Regions from separate parts of the Homo sapiens genome. Here regions 2 and 3 are each linked to region 1. Evidence: promoter capture Hi-C in 16 types of primary human blood cells and fetal thymus (Javierre and others, 2016). All regions are on one chromosome and are shown on one strand. Each heading gives the region's core, a stretch centred on a gene start or on the middle of the fragment in contact. The rest is flanking DNA. Distances are from core to core; before and after follow the strand shown.

Region 1 (4,120 bases), core at 958-3,457:
CCAAGTAGCTGGGATTACAGGTGCCCGCCACCATGCCCAACTAATTTTTTTATTTTTAGTAGAGATGGAGTTTCACCATGTTGGCCAGGCTGGTCTTGAACTCCTGACCTCAGGTGATGCACCCGCCTTTGCCTCCCAAAGTGTTGGGATTACAGGCGTGAGCCACTGCGCCCAGCCAACCTGTCTTTTTACTACATTATGTGGCCCTGCTATTCACAAAATCAATCAATTGCCCAGGCATGGTGGCTCACGCCCGTAATCCCAACACTTTGGGAAGCCAAGGTGGGAGGACTGCAAAGGCCAAGAGTTCAAAACCAGCCCAGCCAACATAAGGAGACCCTGTCTCTATAAAAAATAATTTAAAAAACAAAATCAACCATCAAGTCCTGTTAAAAGTATAAAAATCTCACATTTCTCCCTTCTACTCTGCTCCTGCAGTTTCTAGCTTAATCCACGTCTTCCTCACTATCCTTCATTTGCACTTCTGTCACCAACATGTGTGGCAGTACAGGTAAAACAGTTCAAAGAACTGGCTCTAAAAGTCGCGAAAGAATTTGAAACTCAGCTAGCTTGCTGTGCGATGTGGAGCAAGTTATTTAACCTCTTTGTGTCTCAATGTCATCATCTAGAAAATAGGGATAAGTACCTCCCTCATGGATGGGGTAAAAGGATTAAATGAGATAATGTGTTTTTCTTGGCCTTCAAAGTCTCTCCCCACTCATCCATCCTGTTATCTACTGTTCCCAGTGCAATCTTTGTTCATCTCTTCAGCACCCTCTTCGTCTAGCTCAGGGTCTGAGTAGGTCAAGGGGAGGATTTCTCATGAGGTGATGTTCTCACTCTGGCAGATCAAAAGGCTTTATTTGCTGGAGTCCAAAAAGAGACAAGGAGATTGCAAGGGAGACGGTGAATGGGGACGTTCTCTCTACACTCAAATCTATCCCAATCTTTCCATCAGCTGTTGATGACCACATGAAAACACAAGCCTGCATTCTTCTAGTCAGATGCATCAGGTGGTATTTTAAACTCTTGTCTGAAAGTCTTTCCCTTCTCCCGTAACACACACAGAGATAATCACAAAATAACAAAACATCAGTGTTGGAAGGAATCTTAGGACCCATCCTAACCTCCTCATGTTGCAGATAAAGAAACCGAGGCCTAGAAACTAGACATAACCTGCCCAAGGTTCCACAGCTATGCAAGTCAACCAGGACGATACAATCACCTTAGGAAGGGGAAAAGGCAGCAATGTGGTTTTGGCCAGTAATCTTTACCTTAAAGCGTATTACACACTCCCTGTAACTGCACACTCCGGTGCGTCCAAGTGACAAACCAGAAAACTTACTCTCCTTTGAACAAAAAGCGTGAGTTTCACGATACAGAGCCATTAGCCATTGATACTTCTCCCCTCAGTAAAATAAATCCACCCACAAAAAGCACAAAATTCCCAGCAGGGACATATACCAAAATAGGAAGTCTAAAATTATACTGATTTAGAAGACAGCTGAGATAACCATTAAGGAAGACCATCTTCACTGCAACCCACTCTCCCACCCACTCACCGCAAAACAGAAGGAAATGCTCTTTAGTAGATTGGGAAAGGTCACTCTCCCTGTTTGCAGGGCTCACTGACCACAAGAATCAACGCAAAGACAACCAGGGCACTGAAGGGTGAAGGGAGAGCAAAGCTGAACAGTGAGGGGCAGATCCGTGATTGAAGTGGTTTGAGAAATGGCAGGAGGAACAGGGCACTGGAATGACAGAGGGCTGGAGCGAGGGTCAGCAGGGCGCGCGGGTCAGAGGAGGAATGGAGGGTCAACAGTGGCTTCAGTGGGTCAGTAAGGATTCAAGGCATGAGTAGAGGAGGTTAGGGGGTCAGAAAGGTCCCAAGACAGAACAGGTAAGGGGTCATAGGGAACAGGGTCCCGCACAGAGAAGAGCCGGGAGGGTGTGCGCGCGCCGCGGACCTCCCATTGCTCCAGAAGACGCGCCATGTCTGCATCATTGTAATCGCGAATATCCTTCTTCTTCTTCCGGGGAGGTGGGGTAGACTCGTCGGGCGTCCCGGGCGAGCCTTCGGCCGCGCAGGACCCAGGCGGTGGTAGCAGTAGCAGCAGCAGCAGCAGGTCAGAGGCACAAAGCAGGACCACGGCCTTGCGCGCCCACCTGGAAGCCGCCATTTTCGCTGCGCCGCGCAGCGCCCTAGACGCGCTTACCCGACCTGCGCGGGCCGGACCCCGCCTTGCACACGCCTTCCTGTCCGCCTTTCCGAGGCCCCGCCTCCCGGCCCTCGCTAGCCTACCGGGCCCCGCCCCGTACCATTTCCTAACCCCCGCCTCTGGAAGCCCCGCCCCTCCGCCATTTTGGCCCCGCCCCACTGGCTCCTCCTCTTGGTCCGGCTGAGGCGCTCTGTCCCGGCTGGGTGGGTCCCTGAGTGCTCATTTTTCGTTTTCCGTCAGAGGCCGACCTTTTTCTCTGGAACGCACAAGCCAGGTCCAAAAGTTCCTTCAGGGCCTCCAGGAACCACTAACCAACGTCCCTGTTGACCTCAGTTTCTCGCCTGTGAAATAAATTGGAACTGGAAGTTCTGGAGGCTGCCTCGGCTCTAAAAAAGCCCATTTCTGGATGTCGGACGTTTATCCTCAGTCTCTTGCAATTTCCTTTGAGAACAGCCAGTTAAAAAGAAGTGAGTGGCAGGTAGGGCAACTTTTTTCAGAAAGTCATAAATAGTTCGAGTCCACTGCTTTCCTCATCAATAAAGAGGATTCAGTTCAACCAGCTTTCAATATTTGTTTTTTTTTTCCAAAAAGATCATTACTATTCATCCAAAAAAAAAAAAGCTTGCCTTTCTTTGATTTCAACCTAATACTGTAGGCTCTAACTAATCCTTTTCAAGGCTGAATCACGCTACTTTTTGTTTCTTAAAAAGATTTTGGCCAAAGATGCTTTGAGATTCTTCTTGTTTTAAACGGCTCATCAGCTGATGTCTTTAAAATGTTTAATTACATAAGACCTTAAAAAACAAAAAACAAAAAAAACCAAAGGCCGCACGGTGGCTTAAGCCTTTATAATCCCAGCACTTTGGGAGGCTGAGGTAGGACGATAATTTGAGTTTAGGAGTTTGAGACCAGACTGGGCAATAAAGCAAGACCCGCATCTCAAAAACAACAACAAAAAACGCTTCATTCTTTATACTGCTGCACAGTTTTATTTGGTATTGTTAAATTAATAGTTTATTTTCCTATTGATGGGCATTTATTACCAATTTTTCTGCTATTACAACAAAAAAGAGCTGTAGTAAACCTTATTCAAGCCTTGTTTGGATAGGATTAGTAGGCTGCATATAAAAGAAAACTGACTTTTTAAGGTGGTTTAAACAAGATAAAAGGTTTTATTGTGATTGACTTTTCTTTCACAGAAGCAGTGTAAACTCGAAACTAGGGCTGGTATAGTGGCTTCTCAGCCATCTGGTACTCAGCCTCTTCCTCATCCTTCTATCATATTAGCCTGTGGCTTCCACCCTCAAGGTCAGAAATTCCAGGATGGCTCCTGGAGCTCCAGTCATCAAGATGACATTCAACCAGAGGAAGGGAGAAGGCAGGCCAAACCAAGCACACCTTTCAAGTGGAGTCAACTTCTTTTAAGCAGCCTACTTGAACATTGCATACATTTCTGTTTACATCTCATTGGCTGGAACCTAGCTCTCCAAGGGAGGCTGAGAAATTGTCTTCTAGCTGTATACATTGTCATCTCAAATGAAATTAGGATTGTTATAAAGGGAAAAGAATAAAGTGGAGGTTGAGTAGGCAACTACGCCTGCTTTCCTTCACTCTTAGGACCAGTGCAATTTAAATTCTCTCACACCGTAGGAGTGGCTGATATTCTACATATTCATGCATGCATCTGTATGTAAACACGCTAAGCTATGACCTTTCCTATTGACGTTGAGCAGAAACAACTCATAAGAAAAAGATTTTTTCTTTTGTGAAATCATAGGGGAAATGTCATGAGCTTTCTCCCCAGAGCACATTGCTCCACCCAGTGGCTTGGAGCCCTATCCTAGTGCAGTCATACTAAAAAACATGCACAGCTGTGGCTGATCATGTGCTCTACTGGGAGG
Region 2 (3,904 bases), core at 64-2,563, 520 kb before region 1:
ATTGGGGTGGGGAGGTGAAATAATACAGTTGTCAGGGCATGCAGTTAGGAAATGCAAAAGTATGTAGGGTATAGGGTCCTAAAAGTAATGGAGGATTTAACAAGACACAGCGTGTGGCCAAGCTGAAATAGAGTGGAAGTGTCCTGGTATTATCAAGAGGGACTTCTCAGGACAGAGACAGTATTGGCATAGAAAGGAGCCACAAAAAATACCTAGAAAGAGGGGAGCAGAAGGGATTTCACAAAAAGGGAAGAGTGTGTACAGAACCTCACAGGCAGGAATGAAAAAGATTTTGTTGGGAGACCTAATGATTTATTCTGCTAGAGCCGAGACTCGATTTATGTCATGGAAGTTAGGTTTAAAAAGAATAAGGGATGAGGAACTAACGTTTATTACTGTCTGTTCTGTGGCAGACACTTTAGCAAGCACTTCACCTATTTGATCCCTTTCTAAATCATCCCAGTGGTCATGGGAGCCCTCGCTTGGCAGATGTTAGGAAGGTCCAGCAGTGGTAATATGTGCCACTTGGAGGACACAAACTGTGGTGGTCAGGGCAGGAGCTTCAAGCCTCATTTCCACCTCTGTAAAAATAAATGCAGTGATAGCTCCCAGCTCGTGTGGTTGTGGTGAGGAAGGCAACAAGCATAGACTGTTTAACATGGGCCTGAGGTATAATGAAGGGTAAATAGCTGGTAAGTAACAGACAGAAATTATTGAGCACTACTGGCTGCTAGAATCAGTTTTTTGTCTATATTTTTTTAATCCTCACCAAAAGACCTACAGAGTCAAGGTTTGAAATGAATCTCGTTATCTTTAAGTGACTGAGGATTATGAAAGTGGCGTGAAGAGAGAAGGCAGCTATGCAGGTCAGATGAGCCCTACCTTTGTTCCTCTCTCAGCTGCTTGGATGGTGATGATAATGGTTACATTTATGGAGCACCTACTGTGTGCCAGGCCCTTACTAAGTCCTCACACACAGCATCTCATTTAACCTTGCAAGAGCTCACTGAAAAACATTGCTGAGGGCGTGAAGTAACATGCCCAAAGTTGCACAGCTAAGTGGGAGAGCGGTAGGTGATAGTCTCCTTTTACTCCAGAATACATGCTCTTAACCGTGACTGTTTTCTTGGAGTGTAGAGGCTGGTTCTGGATCAGGGCACAGGAACTTGGTAGTGATAGATGGTCTCCCAGGGAATACACATCAGGGAGGAGGGTGGAAAAAAGAGGGTCCGTGATGCGAGCAGGGCTTCATCCCATAAGACCTCCCCACAGTCTTTGCAAACTGGACAAAAATGTGAATTCATGAGTAAAGTCATTCAGTCTCCACTTCCTCTCCTCCAGTGACAAAGAATTCTGTACTTCCCCAGGCACCCTCTTCCGTTTTTAATTCTCTTAACAGCTCTTTCTGTTGGGAAGATCATCCAAAAACTGAAAATAAAAATGCTGACCGAATTCCCTGAACTAATTAAGCATCTAGGTGACGCAGAACAGCAAAAGTGCAAAGCAAGAGAAATGGGCAAAATAAACTTATCCTTAAAAAATGCTTGTACCAACTGCTTCTGCCCTGGTTTCCCAGGCAGAGGATGTTAGAATTCCTCCCCAGCCAAGGGCTTAGACACATTTACAAAGCTCCCTGGGTTCTGCTCATCAGCATATCAATGTTCCCTAGTCTCTGGGTCCTTGTACCCTGCTCAGTTACTGGGATTTGGGGCGCCAGACTCTCCACCTTTTGCCTTCACTCTGCTGGCTGTCCATGTGCTTTACAGTGGGGTTTTCACATAAGATTACATTCAAACAAAAGATTGCCAGCCAAAAGATGTTTGCTAGCTGCTGACCTAGAAGGATACCTTTGTCCTCTGGAGCCTGAACAGTACTTGAAGTGGTTGGAAGGGTGGCCATGGATTACAGTGTCTAGGGAAGACTTAGTGCCTGGCTCCTGCAGGCACAAAGCCCATTTCATTCAGTGGCAAAGGGCTCCTTAGCTTGATGTGAGAATAGTATGGGCAACTATACTTGAGCTGCCTTCAGGCGCTGCAAAGAAAAGACATCTTGTTTTAACAAAGTTAATTTTGCCCCATCCACGTCCTTCTGAGGATAATATCAAGGCTTCCTGCTGCCCCTTCCTTGATCCCAGTTTCCTCCCTGCCTTCAATGACAGTCATGACCCCAATGAATCAATGTGAGCTGAAGGTTGATGCTCCTATCCTCTTCTCACTGTAAAGTGATATGGATAATGCTGTATTCCCTGCTGCCTCCCAGAGTTACTCTGAGAGTCTTTTGAGATGATGGTGATTATTGTCAGTTCTGGAAATCTGACAGAAATGCAAATGTAAGGGGATACTCTTATAGCCAGTGCCAGCATTCAGCTCAGAAATATGGAAAGAGAAAAGGAACAAGAGGGTACTTTCAGTACGGCAAGCTGTGGGTGGGGAGACACGTGGTCTCTTTCGTTCTCCCTTCTCACCTTCCCCTTCCCCTTCCCTTCCTTCTATCTAGCACCTTTTGTGCCAAGCACTATGTGTTGGGCCCTTCTGCTCCAATGACATGACTACAGTTTCAATATGTGGCAAAGCTGTTCACGCCTCTGGCAACCCAGTACCTTCTGGTGATCACTCATTGCTCTCCCATCCCCCTAGGCTGGAAATTTTCTCTCCCCAACAAAGGACTAATGAAGATGGGCTAACCGTGTTTACAGTAGCTGTATCGTAGGGATGGTGCAAGCTTTGTGCATTTTTCTAGCTTATTTTCCAGAAACAAAGTTCTCATTTCCCAAACTATTTGTGTACCAGAATAAATATGCAGATAAAGGAAATTGAAGGCTGCTTTCCCAATAAGAAAGTTGAATCATCCTGGGTCTGTCAGTGTATTGTGCCAATCATAATCTTTTCTTTATAGGAACTGAAGCATCTCATCCTTGAAGCAGCTGATGGATTTCTGTTTGTGGTGGCTGCTGAGACAGGGCGAGTGATTTATGTGTCTGACTCCGTCACCCCTGTTCTGAACCAGCCCCAGTCAGAGTGGTTTGGGAGCACACTGTATGAACAGGTGCATCCTGATGACGTGGAGAAGCTGAGAGAGCAACTGTGCACCTCAGAAAACTCAATGACAGGTCAGTGGAGCTCCCTTTATGAGGCTGTTTGACTCTAGAAAACATTCTTGGCTGGGCATGGTGGCTCACGCCTGTAATCCCAGTACTTTGGGAGGCTGAGGCGGGTGGATCACGAGGTCAGGAGATCAAGACCATCCTGGCTAACATGGTGAAACCCCGTCTCTACAAAAAATACAAAAACAAAAAATTTGCCAGGCGTGGTGGTGGGCGCCTGTGGTCCCAGCTACTCCGGAGGCTGAGGTGGGAGAATGGCATGAACCTGGGAGGCAGAGCTTGCAGTGAGCCAAGATTGTGCCACTACACTCCAGCCTGGGTGACAGAGTGAGACTCTGTCTCAAAAAAAAAAAAAAAAAAAAATTATTTTAGTAAACAGGCCAGGAAACTGGAGGCCATAAAAAGCTGCCTAAAGGTGAGGGAATATATGTGAGTTGGCCTGTGTGATAGCTTCATTCATTCGATAACATTTAAAAATCCATTTTTACTACATCACATTTTTCTGTATTTTACCTGCAATTAGTATACATTACCACTAGAGGTTGTCGTTGATATATTAGCCAGATCCATATGCCCTGTTTGAAGTTTATCCAATAAGCATGTGATTTTCTGTGATCCTGACCATAAACATTCATTACCCAGGCCTTAGTTACCTGAAATCTAGTTCCTTATTGAAATGTTTAAATATAGTCAATTCTACTCATACATGTTTCTAAAAATCACTGCAGTATACACAATCATGCAATTCAAAACTATAGGGCTTATCGAGAAAAAGTGGTTTAGAAGAACAACACTCAATAA
Region 3 (4,426 bases), core at 922-3,421, 560 kb before region 1:
TTGCCCTGCACCTGCTGTGTGCTGGGCCCTGTTCTGGGTGGTGCATGTACGTGGTGATGAACCATGCACTCTCCTTCCCCAGATTCTGTCCCAGGGTTTTTTCCCACCAGCTGTCAGTCTGCCTATCTTCATTTATATCCTTCCTGGAATCCAATGTCACGATCCCCCCACAAAGCAATGGACACCGCTCAGGTACTTACATGTACCCCTGAAGCCACCTGCCACCACCACCCCATTCCCTCAAAATAAAGACAAAAACAAAACCAGAATCCTGAACCTTACATTTTCTTCGGGAGGCCACAGCCTTGGGCCTTGTGAACAGCACGCCCCCTCTGTCCTCTCTGCATGTTCTTCTCGAGGGCCTGGTGCTCTTCTGTGCAGGGGTATCACTGGGACCGTGGCAGTGGGATATAGAGCATTTGTAATCATCGTTCTTGCCATGCCCAGGTTATGGCCAGATCAGATCCACCCCCTCCCATTCCACAGCACAGGTCCTTTCCTGACCTTGCTCCTGCCAACCACTTCCCTCTGAAATCCCTTTTGCTCCTTTCCCAGTAACAATGAGGCTTCCCTTCAGGGTCCTGAAGAGGGCACAGAGGGCTCCCTGGCTCCCTTTGAGCCTGTCCTGTCTCCAAGTCCCGAAGCCATTCCCGGATGGGCCGTAGTAGGGGAGTGGGCCGGAAGATAGTCTGAAGCGGCTGGAATAGGGGTCCTTACAGACAGGCCCACCTTCCTCTCGTGATTGTCTGTTCTTCCCTTGGACCTCCTGGGCAGGCCCCTGTCTCTGCCTCCTGTCTGGCTGTTTTTCCAGGCTACCGGTTGTTGTCCCTACTTATCCAGCAGGGATCCTCATTAGGGGACACTGGCCTACCAGCTCTCTCCCTTTTGGTGCTGAGGGTGGGCTTTGTTCCTCCAGTGCTTCCTCAAAGACCCCCTGGTGGCCGAAGCCCTCTCTCAGGACCTCCTGGTGGAGAGCACCCAGCAGGGGGCTGAGCAGCTGAAGTAGCTCTCAGCTGAAGTAGCTCTCTGAAGCAACCGGCCATTCTGGGGTCGCTGCCCAGGGCCGCTCCTCCTTTTCCTCCAGGACAAGCTCAGGTATGTCAGCCTAAATGGCCCAATGGAACTGACCATGATCCTTGTGAAAGTTTTTCTCCACGGAGAATTGATGCTGCTGTCTCCTGAAAGCTCAGCTGCAAAGATTAAGGGCCTACTGTCAATAGGTAAAAATGCAGCATCTGTTTCCCATTCAACTACTGCTCCCTGGAGGGTGTGGACTTTGATGAAATAGTGCACCCGCACCAGCCCTTCACCTGCGTCTCTGGGGCACGGGGGGAACGGCAGTGTCTTGCCATCAGGTCAGCTGAATTAGAGGTAGAAGATTTCTCGCCTCTTCTTGAATTTTCTGGGACCTGATGCTTAGATCAGAGGTTGGCAAATTATGGCCAATGGGCTGCATCTGCCCTGCCTCCTGTTTTTGTATGGGCCATGAGCTGAGAATAATTTTTACATTTTTAAATTGATGGAAAAAAAACACCAAAAGAATATTCCATGACATGTGGAAATTATTTGAAATTCAAATCTCAGTGCTCATGCATTGAAACACAACCACCCCCACTCATTTATAGACTGTGTCTACGGTTGCTTTTGTACCATAACTGCAGCGTTGAGTAGTTGCCACAGAGACCTTATGGCCTTCAAAGCCTGAAATATTTACTTTCTGATCCTTCCCAGAAAAAGTTTGCCAACCTGTGGCTTAGGTGGTGCAGGTGGAGATGGATCTTCTGCTTGGGCTGAGGCCTCTGAGAGACACAACAATGTTCCCATGAACAGAGAGCTTGTCCTCCTCTATAACCAGAAGGTATGGTCTCACCATCACAGCTCAGCCTCCTGTGCTAGGAAATCCCACAGCCTTTTTCTCCTCCAGAAGCTCATGCTCCCCTATCTTCAAGTATTGGAGTCCCAAGCATAAATTAAGACATCGAGGAGCATCCCATTTGGTTTATAGTACCAAATAGCATAAAAATAACACCTTAACTGCTTTGAAAAGAAAACAGATTTTAATGCCTTGTGTGTAAACATTTTTACTGTTTTGCATATATTTTATATTTGTAGAGTAATTCACAGTTTAAAATTTAACACAAAATGTTTTTTTGGTGAATGATGGATGAATATATTCATCAAGGAATATATTCAACAAGGAAACTACTTTGTTTCATAAAACCTCTTAAAGGGGATTTTAGATCTGTGGAAGGATATGTGAGTTCCTTAATCAATTTGTTGTGTAAACAGCGGGTATGCCCACATTTTTTTTCCTTTTTAGAAAAGGCACTATATTTTATTTATTTTATTTTATTTTATTTTATTTTATTTTATTTTATTTTATTTTATTTTATTTTATTTTATTTTTTGAGACCGAGTCTTGCTCTGTTGCCCAGGCTGGAGTGCAGTGGTGCGATCTCGGCTCACTGCAACCTCTGCCTCCCAGGTTCAAGTGATTCTCCTGCCTCAGCCTCTCGAGTAGCTGGGTCTACAGGTGCACACCACCACGCCCGGCTAATTTTTGTATTTTTAGTAGAGACGAGGTTTCACCATGTTGTCCAGACTGGACTTGAACTGCTGGCCTCAAGTGATCCACCCACCACCTCCCCCCGCCTCGGCCTCCCAAAGTGCTGGAATTACAGGCGTGAGCCACCACACCCAGCCTAGAAAAGGCATTTTATAGAAATAATTGTATTTAGAGAATGAGATACCATTTTGTTACTGGAGGGGCAAAGGGAAAGCCTCTTCATTTTCTGAAGGTTTGCTGAAAAATCAACTCACAAAAGGCAGGTTAATTGGAGAAAATGGGTATAAATTTTATTAATGTGTACATGAGAACCTTCAGAATGACCCAAAGATACAGAGGAAACTGACCATTTTTATGCTTATGTTCAACAAAGTATGGACAGCCGTGTAGATATAGGATTAGACGAAAAGGGCATGATCCAATGTCAATCGGCTGAGTGGGGAAACTCAGCAAGGCCTGTCTGTTTAGATTCTTCTTGGCCTTGCTGAACGTGCATTCCTTCCTTCTGAGTATGAGGCAGGACCCTCTCTGGAATGAGGGTCTTATGACCTTCAGTCAAACAAGGTAGGGCAGATAGTTTCTTTATGGCCAGTTTTCACACAGAAAGGCAGAGGGAAAGTTAGAGTGACATCTTTAAGTTTTATGGCTGGCTTTGGGGAAAAAGGCTTCTGGCTTCCATGCCCTGCCCTGGGGCAGAGGGATTCTAGTGTCTGTGTCTAGCCTCAGGGGAGAATGGCGCTAAGAGACAGGAGGGCAAGAGAAGATCAGAGAAATAAATTTTTCCTCTGAGGATGCTTCTGAGGCCTTCATTTTGGGGTATTGTTGACTGAGTCCTGACATTTATGATTTTACAAGATTTCCTGAACAGGAAGTGCTCCTTTTTCTCCAGTTCACAATGTCACACTGGGCATCTATGGACTTGAGAATAACGGAATTGCCTTTGCTGCGTGGATTTTCTTATGCACGTTTGCTTCATTGCCATTAATCTTCACATATTACACCTAGAAACTTGAAGCCGGAAGCAAAGTCCAGAGTGACAAAGCCAGAGAAGAGAGACCTAGGAAAGAAAGCATTTGTGTGAAGGTGTGAGTGTGAGCTCATCTGTGCTTTTTGTCGGGGAGGCAGAGCATTAGTAGGACTCAGAGATGCCCAGAGGGGTCAAAGGAGTGGGGACAGAGAGCAAGGGATGCAGTGAGAGATCAAGAGAAAATCGGCAAGTGAGTGGAGGAAGAGAGGGGACAGGTAGACCGGGAGAGGGAGTGGGGAGCAGAGGAGAGGCAGGGAACGGGGAGTGGAAGAGAGAAGGAAAAGGAGAGGGGATGTCCAGGAGCAGGATAATAGATTGAAATAAAGATAAAGCCAGGAGCTCGGGTTAAGATAGGTAAGAAGTGGTACTTTCATGGAAGTTTTTCCTGAATCTTTCTGAGGTCCTGGGCGCAGGGTGGGTGGGAGATGGATACAACAGGGGAGCTGTTTGAGGCCACCTTCTCCTTTTATGTTTTCCAACTCCTGCTCCTGAGAGGCAGCACCTGGATCCTTACCTGCGGGTAAACCACTGGGATGTCTGGGGTCACTCTCCCCTCCTACCGGTTGTCGCCTGTACCACTCTCCACGCTCACTGAAGCCCAGTTTCCAGGGAGCTCCCCAATCCCTTAGTGTCTGCAGATACAGCCAACAGCCAGCACTGCCATCGGGCCACCTGGCCACACACCTCCTGCCCTCTGCCTGCCCTCGTCCTTTTCTCAGCCAGGACACCCCATTGCCTCCTCCATAGGTGCCAGCTCTGCCCGAGGTTCTCTTTCCCTCTTGGAGTGATGGAGGCTGGCAGTACAGAGTACCCTTCCCTTTAAGTTTTGGTTC

The links. The method cuts DNA at HindIII sites, captures the fragments that hold promoters and counts their contacts. A CHiCAGO score of 5 or more calls a contact.
Region 2: a fragment that was not itself captured here is called in contact with the fragment with the promoter of MESD in region 1 in 2 of 17 cell types (M1 macrophages and M2 macrophages); the score reaches 7.1 in M1 macrophages.
Region 3: a fragment that was not itself captured here is called in contact with the fragment with the promoter of MESD in region 1 in 1 of 17 cell types (M2 macrophages); the score reaches 5.7 in M2 macrophages.

Annotation. Positions count from the first base shown.
Region 1 is chr15:80,987,612-80,991,731 of GRCh38, forward strand. MESD (mesoderm development LRP chaperone) reads right to left here and starts at 2,208. Exons shown (of 3, transcript NM_015154.3): 1 at 1,968-2,208. The coding sequence starts at 2,180. RefSeq lists enhancers at 1,289-1,903, 1,892-2,171, 1,904-2,517, 2,157-2,451 and a silencer at 2,202-2,481. The HindIII fragment of the contact is 12,917 bases long and covers 1-2,838 here.
Region 2 is chr15:80,472,115-80,476,018 of GRCh38, forward strand. It overlaps ARNT2 (aryl hydrocarbon receptor nuclear translocator 2), which reads left to right. Exons shown (of 19, transcript NM_014862.4): 5 at 2,896-3,109. Among named protein-coding and RNA genes, the nearest start is that of ARNT2, 70 kb to the left of the region's middle. The HindIII fragment of the contact is 2,811 bases long and covers 1-2,719 here.
Region 3 is chr15:80,430,896-80,435,321 of GRCh38, forward strand. All of the region lies in intron 1 of ARNT2 (aryl hydrocarbon receptor nuclear translocator 2), which reads left to right. Among named protein-coding and RNA genes, the nearest start is that of ARNT2, 29 kb to the left of the region's middle. RefSeq lists an enhancer at 4,273-4,426. The HindIII fragment of the contact is 7,588 bases long and covers 1-4,426 here.